4 separate regions of the Homo sapiens genome follow, and all the other regions are linked to region 1. The links are contacts of gene promoters, found by promoter capture Hi-C in blood cells and fetal thymus (Javierre and others, 2016). All regions are on one chromosome and are shown on one strand. Each heading gives the region's core, a stretch centred on a gene start or on the middle of the fragment in contact. The rest is flanking DNA. Distances are from core to core; before and after follow the strand shown.

Region 1 (6,019 bases), core at 2,943-5,442:
CCACCTTGGCCTCCCAAAGTGCTGGGATTACAGGCGTGAGCCACTGGGTCCGGCCAAGTATTTTGCTTTGAATCTACAATTTTCCTATTTGGAAAAGAATATGCCAACCCATCAATGCATGTATTCTAATGAATATGGCTTTTTATTTCTCTTTGTAAATTTACATATTGGCATTCTACATATATCATGTAAAATAACATATGCAATTTATATGTAAGTCTTTTGAGAACCAATATCCCTGATTTAATCTGGCTGGTTGACAACTACTAAATTTCTGCAGCAGATTAAATGGATAAATGACTTGAAAGGTTTAGAGACAACACTTTAAATATAAAGAATAATAAAATTTCGAGGTTTGTGTCACTTGTTACTTTAGTGACTCTTGAGGTTTTGCCAAGAACAGCAGTTCTGGGAAGCTGAAATGAGATGATATTTCTAGGGGCTCATTATTGCTTGTATCTTCTCTCTCTCTGTCTCTGTGTGTGTGTGTGTGTGTGTTAATGAGTCATAGGGATAGTAATTATGAGATGTATAAGCCACTTGAAGAAGTAATTCTGGAATTACTTACATGCAATATGAAATACTCAACTTATAATAAAGGCAGTTGAAAAAAGGAAGATTGGGGCACATCAGTAACTAAAACTTATCTCAGTGCTGGGCTGATTTTCACCAATTCTATGATGTTTTTTTATAGTAATACAGAAGAAAGAAATTGAAATGACAAGCTGAAACTGATAATCAAAGTCATATATATTTTTTCCACAATTCACATGCTGAACTGTTTAATATGTGATACAATCCAAAATAATTCACTTTTGACTAGATGATGATCATGATCTTGATATCTTCAAAGCATTTCTATGTTTAAACCAATAATCTTTTAAGGGCTTATATGCACTAGGAATAAACTTAGAATCTTAGCCTATGGTCCAAGAGATGTAAATATCCATACAATGGAAAACTATTTGTCGTTATAAAGGAACAAAATATTGGTACATGCAAAAACAGAGATACCTTTTAAAAACATTATGTTTCCTGAGAGATGTCAGGTCAAAATGAACACATATTTTATAATTCCACTTAAAAGAAATGTCCCCAAATGGCAAATATATAAAGAAAGAAAGTAGATTTGTGGGGGCCTAGTGTTGGGGATAGGAATGAGAATAACTATAATGATCGTGAGGCGTCTTTTTAGTGTGAGGGAAAAATTCTACAACTAGGCTGTGGTGATAGCTGAAAACTCCGTAAATATATATTCTTTGCAAATATGTATTTACTGAATTGTACATTTAAAATGGGTGAACTTTTATGACATATACATTACTTCTCAATAAAGCTTTTAAACACATAGAAATTATCACTAGTTAGAAAAATTTAAGATTTTATGTTGATCTAACACAAAACTAAAGAACAAGAAAATGGGTAGGAATGAGAGACTCTGCATGTTTACTTTTTAAATTCGTATTCAAAATATTTATTCTATTTTGTTAGAATTGGGCATAAATGTTAAATGCAGTCAGACTAAAACTCAAATCCAAGCTCTATGATTGACTTTTGGAGTCAACTTTGGCAACTGTTTTAACTATTTGAGCCCTATTTTTGTCTTTAAAAGAAAATTTAACTAATGGGGCCAATGCAAGAATAAAACAAAGGGGCCTTGGGCAGTCTGGTTTTTAAAAAAGAAAGATTCTCAGTAAGCAGTCATTACTGTTTTAAAACATGGAGGTGGCAGTCTCTTCTGTACTTTTTCTGGCATAAAGAAGCACAATAATTATAAAAATGCTGATAAACTTACTTATACAACAGTATAGTTGTAATTTCTGTGCCTTCTATATTTTCTCAAAGGGATTTTAGTCATAACATTTTTAATAAACCCATTTGCTTTTTGTTTGTTAGCCAGTAAAAATAACATGCTCACAGATGTACTTAATCTACCCTTGTCCACTCTGATCCATCCTCTACACAGCAGTCAGCAGACTGAATTCTTAAAATATACATCCAACCAAGTTACAGTAATTAATGTATGCTAAAATTAATGTCAGTAGCAGTCTTAAAGGAAAATAAAGAGAAAATGTGCATGTTCTCACTCATAAGTGAGAGTTGAACATTGAAAACACATGGACACAGAGGGGAACAACACACACCAGGGCCTGTTACGGGGTGGGGGTGAGGGGAGGGAACTTAGAGGACGGGTCAATAGGTGCAGCAAACCACCATGGCACGTATACCTATGGAACAAACCTGCACATTCTGCACATGTATCCTGTTTTTTTTTTAAGAGGAGACTAAAAAAATAAAATGAATAAAATATGAATTCAATCAGTTGTGGAAGTGATAATGGGGGATTATAAAGCAAATTGTAGAAAAAAACAGGTGCAGCTGTGTTTTGTTTTGTTTTTAGCATCAGATGGGATTGTTGCCTGTTTAAGTGGTTGCTTTCCTAATTTCTGGCTCTTTCTTCAAACCCAGATTCTCCAGGTAAAGGATCACTGGGCAATCTCAAACATCTGAACTTCATGGATGGCTCGCTCCTAGAGGAAAAACAGCCCAAGAATTATTGTTAATTAAAGAGCTTTAAACTGAATATAACTAAATACCACTGTATAATTGCATTTCAGTCTAAGAATTAATGAGGTAGATGCAGTGGGGAGAAAGAGAAGGGAAGAGAGGAACGCCTCCAGTCTAATTGCTTCCTTGGTTCCACACTTCCTTAGTGCCCATTAGGGAAGAGGGTCCCAAAGGAACTGAAGACTTTTATTCACTCTTGAGGGCTTGATTGCTGCTACTTCATTCAGGGGCCAGGGGCACTGAGATTTTCTGGCCTGGGTGGCTGAGTCTGAAAAAGAGGAACATTCGGCTTTTCTAGCCCCAGAGCCACAGATGATCCACAGCACCTAAAAGCAAAGGAAACAGGGCTGGGTGGACGTAGGGCCTGGTTTTCAGCCCAGGACAGCCACATTTCCCTTCAGTCTGTGAGTGCCTTTTCTCTGGAGTGCTCCCCTCTCATCTTCTGATGAGTTCTACGCACTAGAGGAAGGTGGGAAGAACGTGGGAATTGGCTCTGTTTGACTTTGGGCTAAATCTGACTTAGTTGACTCCATGGTATTTTATTGAGCTATTACCTGATTAATGAAGCTTAACCTTAGAAATTTTAGGAAATGAATAAGATGTAAAGTGATAATGGGGAATTATAAAGCTAATTCTAGGAAAAATGATGATTATTTGCAGTCAAGTCACAGATATAATTGCTATTGGACACTAAACTCTATTAAAAGAAATGGCTGTTTTTAATATCAGTAATTATCTATTGCTTTTTCCTACCTACATATCATCTTTTCTATTCTTTTATTTCTTTATTTTTATTTAAGTTATTTTTGGGACAGGGTCTCACTCTGTCACCCAGGCTGGAGTGCAGTGGCATGATTTTGGCTCACTGCAATCTCTGCCTTTTCAGCTTAAAGGATCTCCCCACCTCAGCCTCCCAAGTAGCTGGGACTACAGACATACACCACCACACTCAGCTAGTTTTTTCTTTTTCTTTTCCTTTTTTTTTAAATTTTTGAAGAGACAAGGCGTCACTGTATTGCCTAGGCTAGTCTCAAATCCCTGGGCTCAAGTGATCCTGCCACCTTGGCCTCCCAAGCTGCTGGGATTACAGGTGTGAGCCGCCATGCCCAGGCTTCCTTTCTGTTTTACACCCATTAGACAATTCTCAGTTTTCAGTTACTCTAGCTGCTGATTGAGAAAGCTGCCTCCCGGATCAGTCACATGAATGGGTAATCTCAGAACTGCTACAAGTCAACTTAGAGAAATGCTGTGGAATAAGGCACACATTAAATAATTTGATGAATAAATTTTTTAACAAAGATGGGTAGGAGCCAAAATTATATGGGTACTTTGCAGACATCAATGCATTAATGTACACAGGAACCATAATATATTATTTTACTATTTATATATATTCAGAAAAGATTTAAAGAGTTTTTTTCAAGGTCATCTGATGTCAGAGTGGGCAGCGTGTTTAGTATGTAAACTCAGATACTTCCAGTTGTAAAGTTTATTCTACACCTTCTCTTCTATATCAACTCTAGTGTTGTCTCTTCATTTTACTTATGAGGAAACAGATGAAAAATAGATTAATAACTTACCCAAATGTCACTCAATAATTAATGACAGGATTGAACTGAGTCTTATTTAGAAGTTCTCCACTCTATATACTTATTATCAGTTTGCGATAGGCTCTATAAAGAGTTTTTTGCAGGAAAAACTCATCTCAGTGAGGCCATTGTTTGATGTTCCAGGACTAATTTGACATGAAGATAAAGAATCACACTCCAGTAACTGAGGTCCCCCTGATGGGAATCCCTCATACAAAGGGGATGGAAAATGTGCTTTTTGTCTTATTTCTGGCCTTCTACCTCTTCACCTTGCTGGGGAACCTACTCATTCTTCTGGCCGTCCTCACTTTCTCCAACCTCCACACCCCCATGTATTTCTTCCTGGGAAACCTGTCTGTGTTTGACATATTTTTCCCTTCAGTGAGTTCCCCCAAAATGATGCTCTGCTTAGTGGGACAAAGCTGCACCATCTCTTTCCAGGGTTGTGCCTCCCAGCTCTTCTTTCACCATTTCCTGGGTTGCACCGAGTGTTTCCTGTACACTGTGATGGCCTATGACCGATTTGCAGCCATCTGCCACCCTTTGCCATACACGGTCATCATGAAACGCAGGGTGTGTGCCCTCCTGACGCTAGGCACCTGGACGGGGAGCTGTCTGCATGCATCTGTCCTCACACTCCTCATCTTTAAGTTATCCTACTGTGGCCCCAATGAAGTGGACAATTTTTTTCTGTGATATTCCGGTGGTGCTGCCCCTGGCCTGCGCAGACACCTCTCTAGCACGGACAGTGAGTTTCATCAACGTAGGTGTTGTTGCGCTCATGTGTTTTCTTCTTATCCTCACCTCTTATGCTTGCATTGTTATCTCTATACTGAAAATCAGTTCCTCAGAAGGTAGGCGCAGAGCCTTCTCAACCTGCAGTGCCCATCTGACGTCCATCCTGCTCTTCTATGGACCAATAGTCCTCATTTATCTCCGACCTGCCTCCAGCCCTTGGCTGGACTCTGTGGTTCAGGTGTTGAATAATATTGTTATCCCTTCCCTGAATCCTTTGATATATACTTTGAGAAACAAAGGTGTAAAGCTGGCACTGAGAAAGGTGCTCATTCAAGGAGTACATAATTGTGGAAGGTAAGCTTTATATCCTGGTCTGTCTTTACAGCTTTGTCTTGAATTTATCTGGGGGCAATTAGCTCCTATATTTTGTTTGATGACTGAGTACCAGGCGCTATTTACAAATACTGATACATGTAATGATTATAATAATCATATGAAGTAGATAATACTATTATCTCGATTTACGAGGGAAAATTAAGGCACTGAGAGGCTGAGATCTTTCTGCAGTGTCATGGAGTTAAAAACTTGCTGGGCGAAAATGTGACCCAAAGCGTCTTAACCATGTGCTAATGCTGCTTCTGTAGTGTCTAAATGGTAACATAAATACTTCTCTCAGGAGCTTCTTTTCGGTTTACACAGAATATTCTTCAATTTGCCAGCAAATCTAGTACATTAAATTTGCTCCATTGATTTCTATAACTTTTTTTGAGTCTATATTTTGATGGATGACATATGTCTGAGTCTGATACCAAGAAATTATCTGGCTGGGTATGGTGGCCTACGCCTGTAATCCCAGCACTTTGGGAGGCTGAGGCAGGCAGATCACTTGAGCTCAGGAGTTCAAGACCAGCCTGGTCAACATGGTGAAACCCCGTCTCTACTAATAATACAAAATTAGCCAGGCGTGGTGGTGGGCACCTGTAGTCCCAGCTACTCAGGAGGCTGAGGCAGGAGAATCGCCTGAACCTGGGAGGTGGAGGCTGCAGTGAGCCAAGATCACAGCACTGCACTCCAGCCTGGGCGATGGAACGAGAGACACTGTCTTAAAAATAAAAAAAAAAGAA
Region 2 (5,564 bases), core at 2,191-4,690, 490 kb after region 1:
ATGACGAATTTTGACCAATAACTCAAACTACCACATTGAGATATAGGTAATCATTTTCTTCACACATATTTCACATTCCAAATTTTCAACAATAATATATGAGTTGCTCCAAGAATCAGAAAAAGAAAAACCATGTGCCTCATTAGTTAAAATAGATAAGCACGTATAGAACTTTGTGACGGATTAAAAATACTTGCCATCCTGATATTCTTAACTATCAGAGGCTCTGACCTCACCACAATATCAACCAAATAGTGATGGGAGTGGTGCAACCACGAGATGAGGACAGAAGATCAGGGAACCAAAATGTTACCCTGTGGCTCCAGGGCTGGGGTCCACAGTGATGCATCCAGGGCCAAGTGTGCCTCTGTTCTTTCTCTCCCTCCTCAGCTGCATCCCTTCCCAGACCTCTTCTGTGATTGGCTCCTCTTCTTTTTACCCCTGCATTGTTCTCTTATCCCATCCTCTTCTAGGCTGTTTCCTTTGGAAAATGCCTTTTTATACAACTTTAAAACAAGATAGGTGGATGAATAGATAGGCAGATAGATTAGATAAATTAGATAGATATGTACATACATACACAGATACATGCATAGATAGAAAGATACATAGATAGATATGCTCGAATATGAGAAGATTCATAGGAAATCAGCAACAACTGTTGTTTTTAGGAAGGAGATTTTAGGAATGGAATGATAAGATAGGAGGAAGACATATTTTCACTGTATAACCCCCATTTATATTGTTTAGTGCTGTACCATACGCAAATATTACTTAGTCAAAATATATGACTTTTTAAATGATACTTAGAGTTCATTTTTCTCATGACTAAGCAGAGTTCCAGGAAGATGAAGTGACTTGTCTCAGCTCATGGAAAAACTCAAGGAAGTGCTGATAATTACATAAAAGAATTATTGCAGGGTGATAACTAAAATGTAGTAAGTGCCCTGCATTTAATTCTTCAAAGACCCCACGAAGTCAGAATCATTACATCACTTTCAAAAATAAAAAAATTAATATTTAGAGACATTAAGTAATTTGCCCAAAGTCACAAAATTACTAAGCAACTGAGCCAGGATACAAAACCAACTTCATCATGTGCCTCACGAATCGCTGTTTTCATCTGCTCTCTACCTCAAATAGCCTATTCACCTCACCCACCAGACGCCCACCCACAAGTCTCCTGAACTCACTTCTCTTTCCTATTCCACGCTGACTAAAGAAAAATCTTTCCCACCACACACACACACACACGTACACACACACACACTCTCAGTCTTATGACTTCAAGCCCTTCGTGTCATACCAAAGAACAAAACTACACCCTCATCTAAACTTCCCTTTTTCCCAAAGAATATTCCCAAGGAAAAGCTCAGAAATCAAAGTGTCTCCCCAGCACTTAACATGGTTAATGCTAATCCAAAGAACCTTCCTTTGCTACTAATAAATTATTTAGATCAAAGTGTATTGATCTGGCGTGTTCTATAACTATCATTATATGTTGTGGGTTTACAACCCAGTCTTGGATGAATTATCTTTTACCACATATGTTTATATGAGTGCAGTCTGCAGTACCTTAAAATTCAATGGAAATTGCCTCTTTTAATAATCAGCTGCTTAGTGCTGTTTTAATAACTAACTAGATTCTCAACATTATTTACTTCGCCTCGAAAACTTCCAGACCCTTAGTTGATTATCCTAAGCCACATATTTCTCCATCACAGCTCAAACACCCAAACTAACCCTTGAAAAAGCTCTACATTCTGATTCTTTAAGTTTTCAAATGAATGTATGATTTCTACTCAGCATCTTTATAACCCTTAATCCTATGGAAGTCCTAATTCCCTAGACTGGGTTCCTAGGGTTCCACACAACCTCAATCTTAACTCAATGTCAGTCACATTCTACAAACTTGACACAATTCTCTTCTCATTTGGTGAAGACCAACTTAAGAAAATGTTTCATCTTCTATCCTCTTGAAAAAAAATGAAATATTTAAAAATTATTTATTGAGAGGTCACATTAAATTACTATGAATAGAATTAGGTTTTAATGTGTTAAGTTTTCTTACTTTTAAAAGGATATCTGCAAGGGCAGCAATGAAGCATGAAAAAATGACATAAAGAAAAAAAAAGCAGCCTGGAATTCAAGGACCTGGATTCCATTCCCAGTTGTGGCACCAAGTAGTTGTGTGTCCTTGAGCAACATATGTATTTCTGAGTCTCCAACACATGTTAATTGAAGAGACTAGATTAAATAATGTGTAAGGCCAATTCACGATTAAATGGTCTATGATTATAGAAAAATTTGCATAAAATGAAGAAATCCTGGAATAACTAGGTGAAGCAGAGACAGGGAGAATATGTCTGCACTTAACACTCATCCAAATGTAAAGATTTAAAATTCTTTTTCTGTACAAGACAGGAAAAAAATGGAACTTGAATCTCACTGAAAACACACACTAATAAGCAAAGCATTGTATCTCCTTCCTCCAATACTAATCCTTTCTTAAGAAAAGATTTTTCTGCCCAAAGTTCTCCTCAGGGCAACTTTGACATCCTTGTTCCTCAAGCTATAGATTAATGGGTTTAACACGGGGACTATTATGGTATAGAACAGGGAGGACACTTTCCCTTGCTCGAGGGGCAGGATGGAAAGGGGTTTGAGATACATGAAAGCACCAGAACCAAAGAAAAGAGAAACTACAATTATGTGGGAACTGCAAGTACTAAAGGCTTTGGACCTGCCTTCTGTAGAACTGTTGTGTAGAATGCTGGAGAGGATGAGGGCATAAGAAATAAAGACAGTGACAATGGGCATTCCAACGTCAACAGCCACCACAATAAAGACCACCAGCTCATTCATGTAAGAGCTGTTGCAGGAGAGCTCAAGGAGAGGAAGGATGTCACACATGAAATGATTGACAAGGTTGTCAGCACAGAAGGTCAGGTTCATTATGCTTCCTGTGTGGGCCATGGCCCCAGCAAACCCCATCCCATAGGCACCCAACAAAAGGAGCAAACACACCTGGCAAGACATGGTGACTGTGTACAACAGTGGGTTACAGATGGCCACGTAGCGGTCATACGCCATCGCTGACAGGATGAAGGACTCAGAGACGACAAAGAAGCAGAAGAAGAAGAGCTGAGTCATACACCCTGTGAAGGAAATGATGTTCTTCCTTGAGACAAAACTCATCAGCATTTTGGGAGTGATGGTAGTGGAGAAACAGAAATCTATTAAAGAGAGGTTAAAAAGGAAGAAGTACATGGGAGTGTGCAGGTGAGAGTTCAGCCCAATCAGGGTTATCAAGCCCAGGTTCCCCACCACGGTGACCGTGTAGAAACCCAGAAACAGGAAGAAGAGGGGGATCCGCAGTCCCGGCTGGTGGGTTAAGCCTTCGAGGATAAACTCTGTCACAGAAGAGTTTTTGGCTGCCATTCTTTTTGGTCAGGCAGGAGAGTCGGAGGGGACAAGAGAAGAGGACCACTTAGAAAGAAACATCACCACCACATTCTTAGTCTCTATCTCCCATTCTTAGAAAAGGAATCCAAGGAGAGAGATTTGAACTTTGGTAGGAAGGTTTTTACCACTCACTGTGGGTCTATCTTCACAGTCCGAGTGATTATAACTCCCAAAGTGTAATATGAGACTCAACTGTAACTGCAGAATGAGAGCTGGATCTGCTGAAGAAAGGGGTACCAAAAATAATCCAAATGTCTTTTAGATCCTTAGGTCAGTCCCTTTTCTATATCTTTCCCTCTCCTGTCTCTGCTTCACTTGGTAAAACCTGGACCTCTTCCCTGAAGGGAATCCTGAGATGCAGAAGCCACAGTGGCTCTGCTCAGAGCTTCCACCTCTGGGTCCACACTGTCAGATTAAGTAGGTGAGCTCATGCTTTTCCAAGATCTCTTAGCTCAAGTGGCTGTACATTTAATAATTTTTTAAAGCTGACACTTATTGAGTGGTTACTATAAGAGGTTCTGTTTGAAGAGCCATGTAGCAATATTATTATCTTCATTTTACAGATGAAACAAGTAAGATGACATAACTAGACAAAAGTCCCCAAACCACCTGCAGCCAGAAGGTGAATTTCGGCAGTATGGCTCAAATGGCTTGCACTTGAAATCACCATGTTACATAAGTGACCAGCATCGGGGCAGGCACTCACCTTCCTTCCCTTTAGAGCCATAAATGCTATACTCTACTGCCTCTTTTTCACATTCTGGGGAGGAAGATGACCCTAGTGAAGACAAGATGACAGATCTGAGCTCAAAGCCCTCTCTTCCCAGTACAGGTCAAAGGATCAGAACCTCTAATGTATCTCATAACACTTCCTGCACTGAAGGACATGACTTCCAATTGTTCATTTGCCCAAAGGCCTCTCCAGCTTCCAGGAAGGAGACAAAGCTTTTTCCTGACCAGTGAATAACAAAAGACTAAAGAGTTTTATTCTGGATTACAGACCTCAATGATCTGGCCATTAAGATAGAGACTCCCTCAAGACCACTTGCTTAGCAATTAGTTTCCCTAGAGAAGAAGAAATGTTTGTTTATCTCTTGGAATTGCTTGATTTGGCTTTCTACTAACATGTATCCTGTACTATTAAGAGAAAATCATTGTGAAAAAAATGATTGTCATTACCATTTCTTGAATACCCAATAATTTAGTACCTGACATAGTACCCTTATTCCAGCTGCCAAGATCCAGAGTACACATATACAAACATATCTTTATTTATTTCTCACAATACCTATTTTACAGGTAAGTTGCTCACAGAGACAAGATGTTTCAGAGTCCACAGGTATGCTTAGGTCTGTCTGACTCCAAGCCCCTTATGTAGCTGCTAGACTAAACTACCTCCCAAGGACAGCTACTGAAATCCATAAAGCAGAGCCCTTGCCTTCTTGGATCTGACAGTCTCTTGGAAAATAACAAGTAAATATTCAATGAATTTAAGTTTTAAAAGGAAGCAATTAGAGCCTGGAAAGGTTAACACAAAGGGCTATTGTAATTTAGAATAGGCTATTCAATAATTTATTCATATTCCACTCACCTCAGGAATTAATTGCACTACTCTAGTCCCAGCTCAGACAAGAACATACTTCTCTCGTTCCCCTCCCCTGTCCTCTCATGGAGTGTATGTTTAATGGTAACAAGAATCCCTATCAGGTAACTGCTCTCAATGTCTACCAAGACCAGCCTTTCTCTAAATTAATAACTAGTCAAAATTCCCTCTGGCTGTCCCTGCCTTCCACCCACTTTTCTTTGAGCACTTCTCCCAACTGACTTTCCATCTGTTCAGTGCCCTCAAACTGAGTCCTAGTAGACCAGACTCCCACTGCAGGAACACATCCACATTTGTTCTTCCTCTTTGGTTTGCATTTGTCTTTTTCTGTCTTTTACTCCATACCTCCAAGCTCTGCCTGGATTAAAATCGTCTATCCTATGTCTCTGTCTCTAAGATATTTACTTATTTTCTTTAACATCAAACCAACAAACTCATAAAATTTTAGACCCGAAAAGACTTGAGAGAGTATCTCATCCAGTGTTTCCCAAACCTA
Region 3 (5,248 bases), core at 545-3,044, 270 kb after region 1:
ACAGGTATGTAGTGGGCATTCAATGAGTATTCCTTAAATGAATGACCCAAAGAATAAACAAATCAATGAATGTGTGATTTCAAGTTGCTTCATCATGGCCATGCGTCTCAGAATATATTTCAGAATGCCAGTGGCCTCTTAAATAGTAATATCAACAAAGTAAATTACTTTCAAGTGGACACAGTCTAATTGCTGTTGTGCAAGTGATAACTAGAATGTTCCTCATTCTAAATACTAAAATGTAGCTAATGCAGACAAGGTAACAGTAACTTTCTAGGTAGTTATGCTTTTTACTTATATTGTCAAAAATCCTTAATTCTCTGGAGTTAAATAAAGTTTTTCCCACTCTCTCCATTTTTATAGAAGTATAGAATCTTATATTACCCATGTACATTTTTAAAATCTCATTAAATGCGACTATCACTCCAGCCTTTAAAAGTCTTTGTGAATCATGCTCTGTCATCCATTAAATCAACTATTTCAAGGCTGAGGATCGTGACTCAGGCTTCTAATTCCAGCACATTGGGAGGCCAAGTTTGGAGGATTACTTGAGGCCAGAAGTTCAAGACCAGCCTGGGCTTTCAAAAGTAATATGTTCAATAAATTGTTTTTAATGTTTATTTGCCCTTCCTCTTCTGTCATCTCCCATTTCTCTAATACATTTTCGAAGATTATATTGACCATCAGAAAATTTTGTTTCATAATCTCCAAAAATGTCTTAATCATTCTCTAATATAAAATATACATTTTTAAGTGATGATAATTTTTCTCTCTCCGAGAGAGACAGAAACTTACAAAGATCCTATAACAACTTTTTATATGGTTTATTTTTTCTGGCTGCCAATGAGAACCCTCTTTGTCAGGATGACTGCCTTCCCCTAGTCATCTTCTTCAGTGCATTTTTCACATCCTTGTTCCTCAGGCTATAGATTAGAGGATTCAGCATGGGGATTATTGTGATGTAGAACACAGAAGACACCTTCTCTTTTTCCATAGTAGTGCTGGAAGGGGGCTTGAAATACATGAATGTTATAGACCCAAAAAAGATGCCCACAGCCAAGAGATGGGAGCTACAAGTGCCAAAGGCTTTGGATTGCCCCTCAGTGGAATGAATACCAAGGATACTAGAGAAAATGAAAGCATAAGAGATAAGGACCGCCAGTGTAGTTGCTAAGGTATTAACTCCTCCAATAATGAACAGCAGAATCTCATTGATGTGGGTGCTGGAGCAAGACAGAGTCAATAAGGGGAGAATATCACAAAAATAATGACTGACCGTATGAGACCTACAGAATGACAACACTGACATGCGGGTAGTATGGACTGTGGCCCACAGAAAACCCAGTGAGTATACCACAGCCATCATTATGGAACAGACCCTGTGGGACATGACAATATTGTAAAGCAGTGGGCGACAGATAGCAACATAACGGTCATATTCCATGGCTGTCAGAAGGTAGCCTTCTGCAATTACAAAAATAAGGAAGAAATAAAGTTGAGTAATGCATTCCAGAAAGGAGATAATGTTCTCCTCTGGAACAAAGTTCACCAGCATCTTAGGGGTAATGACAGAGGAGTAGCAGAGATCAATGAAAGACAAATGACTGAGAAAATAATACACTGGAGGGTAAAGTTGAGAACTGAGAGCAATTAAGAAGATCATGCCCAGGTTCCCCACCACTGTGACCACATATATTCCAAGGAACAGGAGGAAGAGTGGCAGTTGAAGTTCTGGGCGTTGTGTCAAGCCTGCCAGGATAAACTCAGCCCCTGAAGAATGGTTTGAAGTAGCCATGTCTTTTAAGGTATTATGTGTAATAAGAAATAAGAGAAAAGAGAGACATTAGATTTATTTTCTGATTCCCAAAGCAGAATGACATGCCCCATGTTGGTTGCTTCCATTCCTGAGAGCCTCATCTGTCCCATGATTGCCTCTTTTCAGGGACCTCTTACAAGATCAAGGGCAAATATTATGAGTATAACCAAGAACCTTGATTTCACCCAAAACCCTGTTGAATGCTCCTCTTTTAGTAAGAGTCCTCCCATTTTGTTTCCAGGCTTATGCCCATAATTACCTCACTGCTGGAGGAAGCACAAACTTTCCAAATCTAATTAGTTTGTCATTGCTACCATTAAAACAACACTGCTTACCTTCTTTATCTGAGCATATGCCAATAGAACCTTCAGACTTTGTTACAACATGGCTTCTAATCCAGCTCTGATGATATAAAAGTAGTCCATTTCAGTTTCCTTACCCATCAACATGAATCAACATAATTAGCATTTGCTAAAACTAGGAAATAAGAAACATAAAAGACGTCTATAAAGAGACCTTAGTACAAAAAAAAAAAGTATGGAAATGGTTCTAATCAATTCTGACCCTCATTAGCTCACTTCTGTTCTTTGAATGGAAAACTTGAGTGGGCCAGGAGATTCTTGTACTCAGTGTGGATGTGGTTGACAGAAATGTTGTGCCAAGGGCTATCCTGAGATTCTAGTTTAGATCTTTCCTGTTCCAGAAACAGCAAAGAAGCAAAGAAGTAAGGCTGACTTTCAGGTGTAAGACCTGAACCATCAGCAACTCAGCGCTTCCCTCCTTGGCCCTTTCCTGCTATCCATTATTCATGGCCAAACTCTCACTGACCTTTCTCTTTCAAAGCTGTGAGATCTGAACTGGAGATTTCTTATTCCCTGACTTCGTTTCCCCTAAAGTTTAAGCAAAGGATTCAGGGTGTGTTGCTTTCAGCTGAAACACTGTATATTACCTAAGACATCAGGTTTCATAATTTTTTTCCAAAGTGAGAAAAAATGTCAAGGGAGGAAAAACTCCATACATAGAGTGAGATGTTGTTTGCTTTTATTTTGCATAAAAACATATTTTTATGATCACAAACAAAAATTTATAAAAATTTGCTTCTACAGTGTTTTAAGGGTACTCAATATGTATATCGATTTAAAAGCTGACAGGTGGGGTGTTATCTCCAAGAGCACTTGAGAAGACAGCCATGTTTCTGAATTAGGGGAATTAGAGAATACTCTAAGAGAAAGAGAATCAGAGTTACCAGAATGCAACTCTAACAAGCCCTGTTACGGGAAGTTCAGGAATTCTAGATTTTTAGCCTTACTTGGAAAAATATTCTACCAAATGACTGAATTAGCCAAAAAGAGAATTTGTTGAAGAAAAATAGCAGAGAGCTTATTTAGAGAGAGACAGTACACTCTGGAAAGGTGAGACAGAGCTGGCTGCTGAAGGGGAGTGAGCCAGCAGCAGCTTGAGAGTTCTGCACTGGGTTTTTGAGATGATGTCCGACACTTTCTTGAAGTTCCCACCTCTGTCGTGAGCCTCTGCCTTTTCCTTTGTCCAGGTTCCTGCTTCTGCCTTAAGTCCCCTTCTCTTCCCTGCCTAGTTCCCATGCCAGGCTTGTGGAACCCTCCCTTACTATTGGCTGATGTGCATGCATGGACCCTGTGTTGGATATGAATCCTGCCTAACAGCCGCATTGCCACCCAAGGGAGGCTGCTTAATAATAGGTCTAGTGATTGAAGCACATTCTTTCCTATATCCGTAACATTTCTATATTGATATATTCCCAAATTATTTTCATCACAGAACTATCACAAATAATGCCTAGAGTATTTCTTTTAGAAAAGACTATCTCAATAAAGTAGAAAGGTTAAGAATTTAAAATTACGTGCTATGGAATGAGAACTTTACCCTCTTTATTACTCATTAAGCTAAGCATAATGATATATAACATACTACTTTTTTTACTTTAAATTCTGGTGTACATGTGCAGAACGTGCAGGTTTGCTACATAGGTATGCATGTGCCATGGTGGTTTGCTGCACCCCAAATGCATTAGGTTTTAAGCCCCAAATGCATTAGCTGTTTGTCCTGATGCTCTCCCTCTACAAATTTATACCATGAGATTGTATTTATACTTTCTTCTCCCACAGACATCAAGAGTAATGACTACATTTATCATCTGGTGTGGTAAAGACAATCATCTCTTCCTTGCTATGATCTGAATTACTCTAAGTTTTTTAAAAGTGTTACCCTACCTCTGCCGATTCTCCTTTCTGTGAGCCATCTGTACTAGGAAGTTGTTCCCACATACTGAGGCCTTATTCTCAATCTTGTTCATGGATTAGTTTACTGTTCACTTGAGTATAGCTGTAATCAAAGTTTTATAACCTTATTGTATTGTGAAATTTAGCTTAAATACATATATAAAAATGTAGAAAATATATATACTTCCACCTACTATAAAATGAGCAGCTTTAACCACCATGCAGATCTATAAATAGAATATCACCAGCACCCCAGAGCCCTCTATGTGCCCCCTTTTTATTGTAGCTCCATCCATCCTTCCATTCTCTATCCTGATTCTATTGCAATCACTCTCTGGTTTTCGTTATAGCTTCATCACCTAAGTGTGGCTTCATTGGTTATCTGCATCTAGCCCAGAAAAGGGCAAAGAGAAAGTTAAAAGGGAACAATGTAGCCCTGGAATAGCATCCATCATCTCTAAAATAGTCACATGCCACACGGCACTGCAGGAGACACTGGGAAATGTGTGTTCTGGAAGAACAGTGAACAGCAACAATCTCTGACACACTGGGCTAATCATATTGGTGCCTACCAATTATCAATGGTTGGTTATGTGTCTTTTTGAGTCTTGACTTGATGACATTTTGCTGGCTCCTTTCTTTCCCATACCCCTACTTCTATTTTACAGAATGAGGTGTTGCCCCATTCTAGAATGGCAAATAAAAGCCAATTAGAGCTTTAAATCAAATGTGTTATAATTTTATCTTTTGACAAAACTAATGTACATTCACTGTGGATTATGTGTTTAATCAAAGCTTAATGGATAATGCAGAATAATTACAGTACTTTACAGAATGGCATACAAATTCGGAATAAAATGCAGTTTCTAAAACTTCTTTGACCATTTCCCACAGAGGGACCTTGCATTTATTGGCCATGTGTCTTCTTGGGTATTAACTTAATGACATTTTGCTGACTCCTTCCTCTCCCACGCCCCTACTCTCTAAATTACTAGTACTTACACATTCAAAATTCTCCTTTTTAAAAAATTTGGCTGAAAAGTCTCCCCTCTGTTTAACCCACTCACCTTTCAACTATACCAGCTCAACAGGCCTCCTCTTTCCCAACAAAAAGAACCTTCAAATGATTTTCCTAAACATACACACAAGATAAATGGAAAAACAATACCCTACCTGA
Region 4 (5,972 bases), core at 1,784-4,283, 300 kb before region 1:
TATTCTGAGCCCAATATGAGTGACCATGGCCTGTGGCACAGCCCTCAGGAGATCCTGAGAACATGTGCCTAAGGTGGTTGGGGCACAGCTTGGATTTATACACTTTAGAGAGACATGAGACATCAGTCAGATACATTTAAGGTATACATTGGTTCTGTCCAGAAAGGCAGGACAACTTGAAGTGGGGAGTGGGGGGCTTCCAGGTTATAGGTAGATTTAAAAATGTTCTGATTGGCAATTGGTTGAAAGAGTTACTATCAATAGAAAGGAATGTCTGGGTTATGATAAGGGGTTGTGGAGACCAAAGTTTTATCATGCAAATGAAGCTTCCAGGTAGTAAGCTTCAGAGAGAATAGATTGTACATTTGTAAATGTTTCTTATCACACTTCAGGTCTGTGTTGATGTTAAATGCTGGTTGGCTTTTCCTGAATTCCAAAAGGGAGGAGGGCATAATGAGGTGTGTCTGACCCCTTCTTCCCGTCATGACCCAAACCAGTCTTTCAGGTTAACTTTGGAGTGCCCTGGCCAAGAGGAGGAGTCCATTCAGATGGTTGAGAGGCCCTTAGAATTTGGTTTACAGCAGTAATTTTTTTTTTTAGTCATAGTTTTAATGGTCTTTTAATGCTAGTTTTTCTTTACTGTTGGGAAGAGACATATCTAATACTCATTATCACAAACTGAATCACCTGCATCATCATTCCCTAAAAAGATATCTTGCCTGAAGACAAGGGTCAGATCAGTAGGTTTGTAGCCTACTTTGAGGGACTTTGCACACTAACCCTGAAACCAGCCCAATTGTTCCACACAAAAGATATTTATGGATTTTTAAATGAACACAGAAATTGACACTCTGTCTTAAAACCTGAAACTTACATTTGTCTTAACTGAGTTCCTTCCTCAGGAAACTGACCCTCAGGCAAGAGACTGAAACCCACTAGATCACCAATCCGGACAACAAGATGCCAGGCCCCTCATTCATCATGATGGCTTCCTTACCCCTCCCTAATTCCTATTTTCTCACCTTACCAGCTCTTCTTCCTTACCCCTCTCTAACTCCTATTCTCCCTCCCTTCCACTATATATAAACCTCCCAAATTTAGTTGGTTGGGGAGATGGATTTGAGACTCTACCTCCCATTTTTCTTGGCTGCAGCATTCAGTTAAAGCCTTCTTCCCTGGCAATGCTCAGTGACTCAGTGATTGATGTTCTGTGCAGCAAACACCAGGACCTGACTGAACCCTGGGGGTTTTGGTGACAATCCTACATGTGAGCCCTGAACTTCATGTAACCTTGGGGCTGCATTTTCCAGTAGGAAAGTGTTTCTAGATATATTGGCTCTGAGACTTTTCCTAGCTTCCTAGGTACATGGTCTACTTATATTGGAGCCCAGAAACTGCTGTAATCCATGAACTGCAAATGGAAATTTTTTACAAGATGTTCTCAAGTTTTGGTATTATCTGAGGATGAACACCTCTAAGTTTATCTAAAAATTTGTATTATTTCAAGATGGAAGTCCCCTTATTGAGATATTATCAAACAAAAAGCTGATTCATTTCAAATATTTTGGAAGGACCATTAGAATTATTAGAAGTCTGTAGCGTGCTTCTCTCATGATAAAGATGATAGGAACTAAGAAAATGAGATGTGGAATGTTTTATGTTTTTGACAAGAAGATGAGGCAAAGAGGGTGGTCATAAAAAAAAAGATGGTGGTCATAAATAAAGAGGGAGACAGGATTCCTTATACATTTTTAAAGTTGTTGACATTTGTCTCTGACCTTAGTGGTTTCTACTTTCAGTTTGCAGTTGACAAGTCCAGAGTTCTACTTCATGCATCTGAGGATATACTGGGACTTCCTTGTTGAAGAATTACATTGTTTCTTCTCAAGAAAAACTCCTAGTTCATTTACATGTAACAAGTTCTCATGGGAGACCTTAACCATCATGGTTTGCTTTTGCATCTTTATCTTACTATAGCATTGAATCAGAACTTCTGGGATTTGGGGGGAGCCTGTTTTACCAAACTTCTCCAAAATCCTCTCTCAACTTTCATTGTTTTTATCTGCATTAAGCTCACTTTGATGTGTTGCATGTTTTACTTTGCATGACCAGTCTTTGGGCAAGTCATTGCCTTTCTTAAGGCTCCCTTCACCTCCTTGTTTCTAATAGTATAAATAAAGGGATTCAGAAGGGGGGTGAGGATAGTATTTAGCACAGACACCACCTTATTAATCTTAAAGGAGGAGTGTGCTGTGGGTCTTAGGTACATGAACAGAACAGCCCCGTAGAGCAGGGAGACAACTGTCAGGTGCGAGGCACAGGTAGAGAAAGTCTTTTGGTGGCCAGTGGCTGAAGGAATTCGTAGGATTGCGGACAGAATGTAGATATAAGAAATCATATTAAAGAGAAGTGACCCTGGGATCACAAGGATGGTTGCTATGACGCCCAGGAGTTCCAAAATGCTGGTGTCTATGCAGGCGGCTTTCAAACTGGGCCCAACATCACAGTAGAAATGACTGATAACATTATTGCCACAGAATGGCAACTGGATGAGCAGCATCGTCTGACAAAAGACAATGGTGAAGCCCACCACCCAGGAGCTCAGGGCCAGCTGCAGGCAGAGTTTGCTGGTCATGATGGTGGGGTGGTGAAGGGGATTGCAGATGGTGAGGTAGCGGTCAAAAGACATGATAGTGAGGATCAAGAACTCGGTGGTGCCCACGAAGAAGTGGAAGAAGGCCTGCAGCAGGCAGCAGGACATGCAGATTACTGTTCTTGCCACTACAAAGGTTCCTAGCAGTTTGGGGATGACTGTGGTGGTGTACCAGATTTCTAAGAAAGACAAGTTACAAAGGAAGAAGTACATTGGAATTTGTAGCCTGGGCTCAGCCCACACAGTGGCAATAATAAGCCCATTGCCTGCAAGGGTTAATATGTAGGTGAGAAAGATTGCAATAAAGAGAGGTGTTTGTAGGCCTTGGATAACAGGAAAGCCTAGCAGGATGAATTCTGTGATTACTGTGCCATTTCTCATGTCCCTTGATACCCTAGAAAGACAAGCAAGAAAGCTCCTTAGAATCTTAGAGCACAGTTGATTATAGTTGGGACAAAAAATAAGGAGGATTCTGACTATGTAAGGTCCTTCGGGACCTGACTCTATTTCAGGTCCTCCCTCACCCACATACAAATACGCACTGGCCACCCCTTCTTTACTGATGATTTGGCTGGTTCTTTTGTCAGCAAAACCAGCTTCTAATGGACTTTGAATGTATTAAAAACACTTGATGAATGCAAAGTGTTTTTTCACCCTTATACAACTATGAGAATAATCATGTGAAATGTGGTTGCTTCTTGTCAATTATTCATATAACTATTTTCAATGCATAGTGTGTATACCAACTTATGTACGTAAACGTGGCTGTGAGTTCATAAGAAATTAATCCCTATTCTCAGAGTCTGAAAAAGAAGTTACTGATTACATTACAGATACGTTTAAGGAAGCCATTATTGTGTGTGGGTGTGAGTGTGTGTCTTAAAATAACCCCAAATCATTGCTATTATATTAGTGGTGAGATAAAGTTAGATAACAGAAGAGGTGTTTTTCTGAAGAATCCACTTCCACATTCTAGTTCAGACTCCTTTGCTAAAGGTATCAAAAATAACATTTAAAACTAAATGAATAAAACTGTTTAGGAAGTAGAGAAATATTCAACTCAAATTCAAAATTTCAGAACAAGCTGAGTCAAAGCCTGTTATATGGAAGCACCTAATAAATGTACATGGGATAAAGATCTGCAGACACTAATCTACAAAAGTGAAAGGTTAGCAAATGCTAAGGATAACAAAATGGGAACTCTGAAAAGTACATTTTTGTCAAAATTTTTTTTGTGACTAAATGTCTTTTTATACCAAGTAAAGTATTTCTATTTGTATATGCAAATTCATGGGCTGAGAACATCCTTTCTGTTCTACCAAAATTCAGTAGAAAATAGTAAAACTACTTCCTTTCTTATTGAGGCTATTCTTCCATGTGGGTTTCCTTTGAAATGGGTGAGACAAATTACTGTGAAATGAATTTCACATTTTTCAAAGTACATAAGAAGCTTAGCATGAAAGAGGCAACTTACAGGTCATTGATAGGTTGTTTCATTCTTCCCTCATGTGAGATAACTGTAATTCTCTGAGGGCTTGCTTAGGGAAGAAAAACACTTCCATTTTCTCCCACCTCTTTTCTAGACCAGGAAAAGATTCTTTGTCTACAATGTCACAAGCTCTAGTGCCTTTCCACAAAACGATGAGAGACAGAGAAGTATTTGAATTTGCACTAATGGCCAATATAACTGGCCACGAACGTGATCTCTTTATATAGGATAGATATGGAATTATCTTCATTCCCCATGCAGAGAAGAGTGGCAATCTCTATAGCTCAATATAACATTTCCAAGGGCTACACATTCTACCATTTGGAGAATTAGACCTATGAATTCCACAAGCATTTGTTGAGAGCTTACTATGCTTCAAGTACTGCCAGGCAATTAAAGAGCTTATCAGATAGATAGATAGATAGGTGGATAGATAGATAGATAGATAGATAGATAGATAGATAGATAGATAGATAGATAGATAGGTGGATACTATATATAGTATAATAATTGCAACATGACTCAGTGAGGGAAAGTGTAGAGCTGTGCACAGATTGTTTTAGAAACACTTAGAAGGGGCTCTTCGCCCATCTTTAGCAGGGGTTAAGGAAGTTTTTCTAAAGAAGGAGAGGCCTAAGCTGAGTCCTAGAGTTCAAAAGGAAATGAAAGTGAAGTAAGGAGAGAGGGGGAATGCATTCCAGACAAGGATTCAGTTTTTGTGAAATAGAACCAGAGCAGAGAATTTCACTTGAGCTGGAGCTGGGAGTCAGGCTTGTCCTGGCACTTATGGTAAATTAACAGTTAGAACAGTTTACACGAGAGATTCATGAAGCTTTTGGAGGACAGAATCTTGAGTCACGGAGTTTGCAAGTGTGTGTGTGTGTGTGTGTGTGTGTGTGTGTGTGTGAAGTATGGTGTCAGCCATTCTCTGTAACACATGTACATGTGGATCTAAGCTTCATGGAGGAAGGGGCTGCAGGTGGTATGTGAATGACCTCTTTTGAGATTCTGGTCACAGACAGTACTGCCGTGGTATCCAGGTGACCATGTGGGACACATACAGGGGACAGACATACTCTCTCTGCTTTTGTCAGGAACATGGCTTGGTTTGGTAGCATGAGGGCCCAGGAGTAGCAGCAGCAGTGGCAGCAGAAATGATACCAGCAGAAGTGGCAGTGCCTGCTGAGGGGGCTGGTCCACAGCAGAAGGAATGCTGAGCAAGTAGAAGTGGCAGAAATGAGGAATCAGGCAGTAGCTGTCCTGACAGCTGCACGGACTGGGTTTTGAGCACATGAGAAGTTTTGTGAGATGCAGAGGGAGGTGGGGATGTCTCAAGTTAGCAGGTAAAAGCAATGTTCAGAGAAACACAGGAAAGCAACCCAAGGAACCTAAAGTTATAGAGCTAAGATGCTGGATTAAACACTGCAGTCTATATGCCTATTACAATTCAATCCTACACTCTAGACTTCTTCTTCCTTTTAAAAAGTCACAATGTATAGGGTCAAATGGATTCCTCCATATCCACCAGGGTCCAAGTCACCAGATCCTGTTAACTTTACTTCTTACTCACTCTCTAGTGTGTGTCCTTTCCGTCTCTCCCTGGCTCCGGTAAATCATGCTGTCATCTCCCATCAGGATTCGAACACAGCCTCCTAACAGGACTCCCTGTCTCCTGACTTGCTGTGCTCTTTCCTACCGATGGTTCAAACTGTAGCAAGGGGGACCATTCGAATTCTGACTACGCCACTCCTCAGAATCTTGAAGTTAACATCCCAGACTCCTCAGCATGACATTTAAGACCACCGATGATCTGGTCTTACCTACCTTTCC

The links. Contacts are between HindIII fragments. The CHiCAGO score rates a contact against its expected background, and 5 or more counts as called.
Region 2: the fragment with the promoter of OR8B12 here is called in contact with a fragment that was not itself captured in region 1 in 4 of 17 cell types (total B cells, erythroblasts, naive B cells and 1 more); the score reaches 9.5 in total B cells.
Region 3: a contact is called between the fragment with the promoter of OR8D2 here and a fragment that was not itself captured in region 1, in 1 of 17 cell types (erythroblasts). The highest score is 6.6, in erythroblasts.
Region 4: the fragment with the promoter of OR6X1 here is called in contact with a fragment that was not itself captured in region 1 in 1 of 17 cell types (endothelial precursors); the score reaches 7.0 in endothelial precursors.

The regions. Positions count from the first base shown.
Region 1 is chr11:124,050,480-124,056,498 of GRCh38, forward strand. It overlaps the pseudogene OR10D5P. Among named protein-coding and RNA genes, the nearest start is that of OR10G7, 12 kb to the left of the region's middle. The HindIII fragment of the contact is 2,119 bases long and covers 3,134-5,252 here.
Region 2 is chr11:124,540,214-124,545,777 of GRCh38, forward strand. OR8B12 (olfactory receptor family 8 subfamily B member 12) reads right to left here and starts at 3,441. Exons shown (of 1, transcript NM_001005195.1): 1 at 2,509-3,441. The coding sequence starts at 3,441. The coding sequence ends at 2,509. The HindIII fragment of the contact is 5,500 bases long and covers 1-4,408 here.
Region 3 is chr11:124,318,403-124,323,650 of GRCh38, forward strand. OR8D2 (olfactory receptor family 8 subfamily D member 2) reads right to left here and starts at 1,795. Exons shown (of 1, transcript NM_001002918.1): 1 at 860-1,795. The coding sequence starts at 1,795. The coding sequence ends at 860. LOC112268069 (a long non-coding RNA gene) reads left to right here. Exons shown (of 3, transcript XR_002957213.2): 2 at 1-4; 3 at 4,422-4,822. The HindIII fragment of the contact is 6,670 bases long and covers 1-4,864 here.
Region 4 is chr11:123,751,485-123,757,456 of GRCh38, forward strand. It overlaps OR6X1 (olfactory receptor family 6 subfamily X member 1), which reads right to left and starts at 3,034. Exons shown (of 1, transcript NM_001005188.1): 1 at 2,096-3,034. The coding sequence starts at 3,034. The coding sequence ends at 2,096. The HindIII fragment of the contact is 3,762 bases long and covers 340-4,101 here.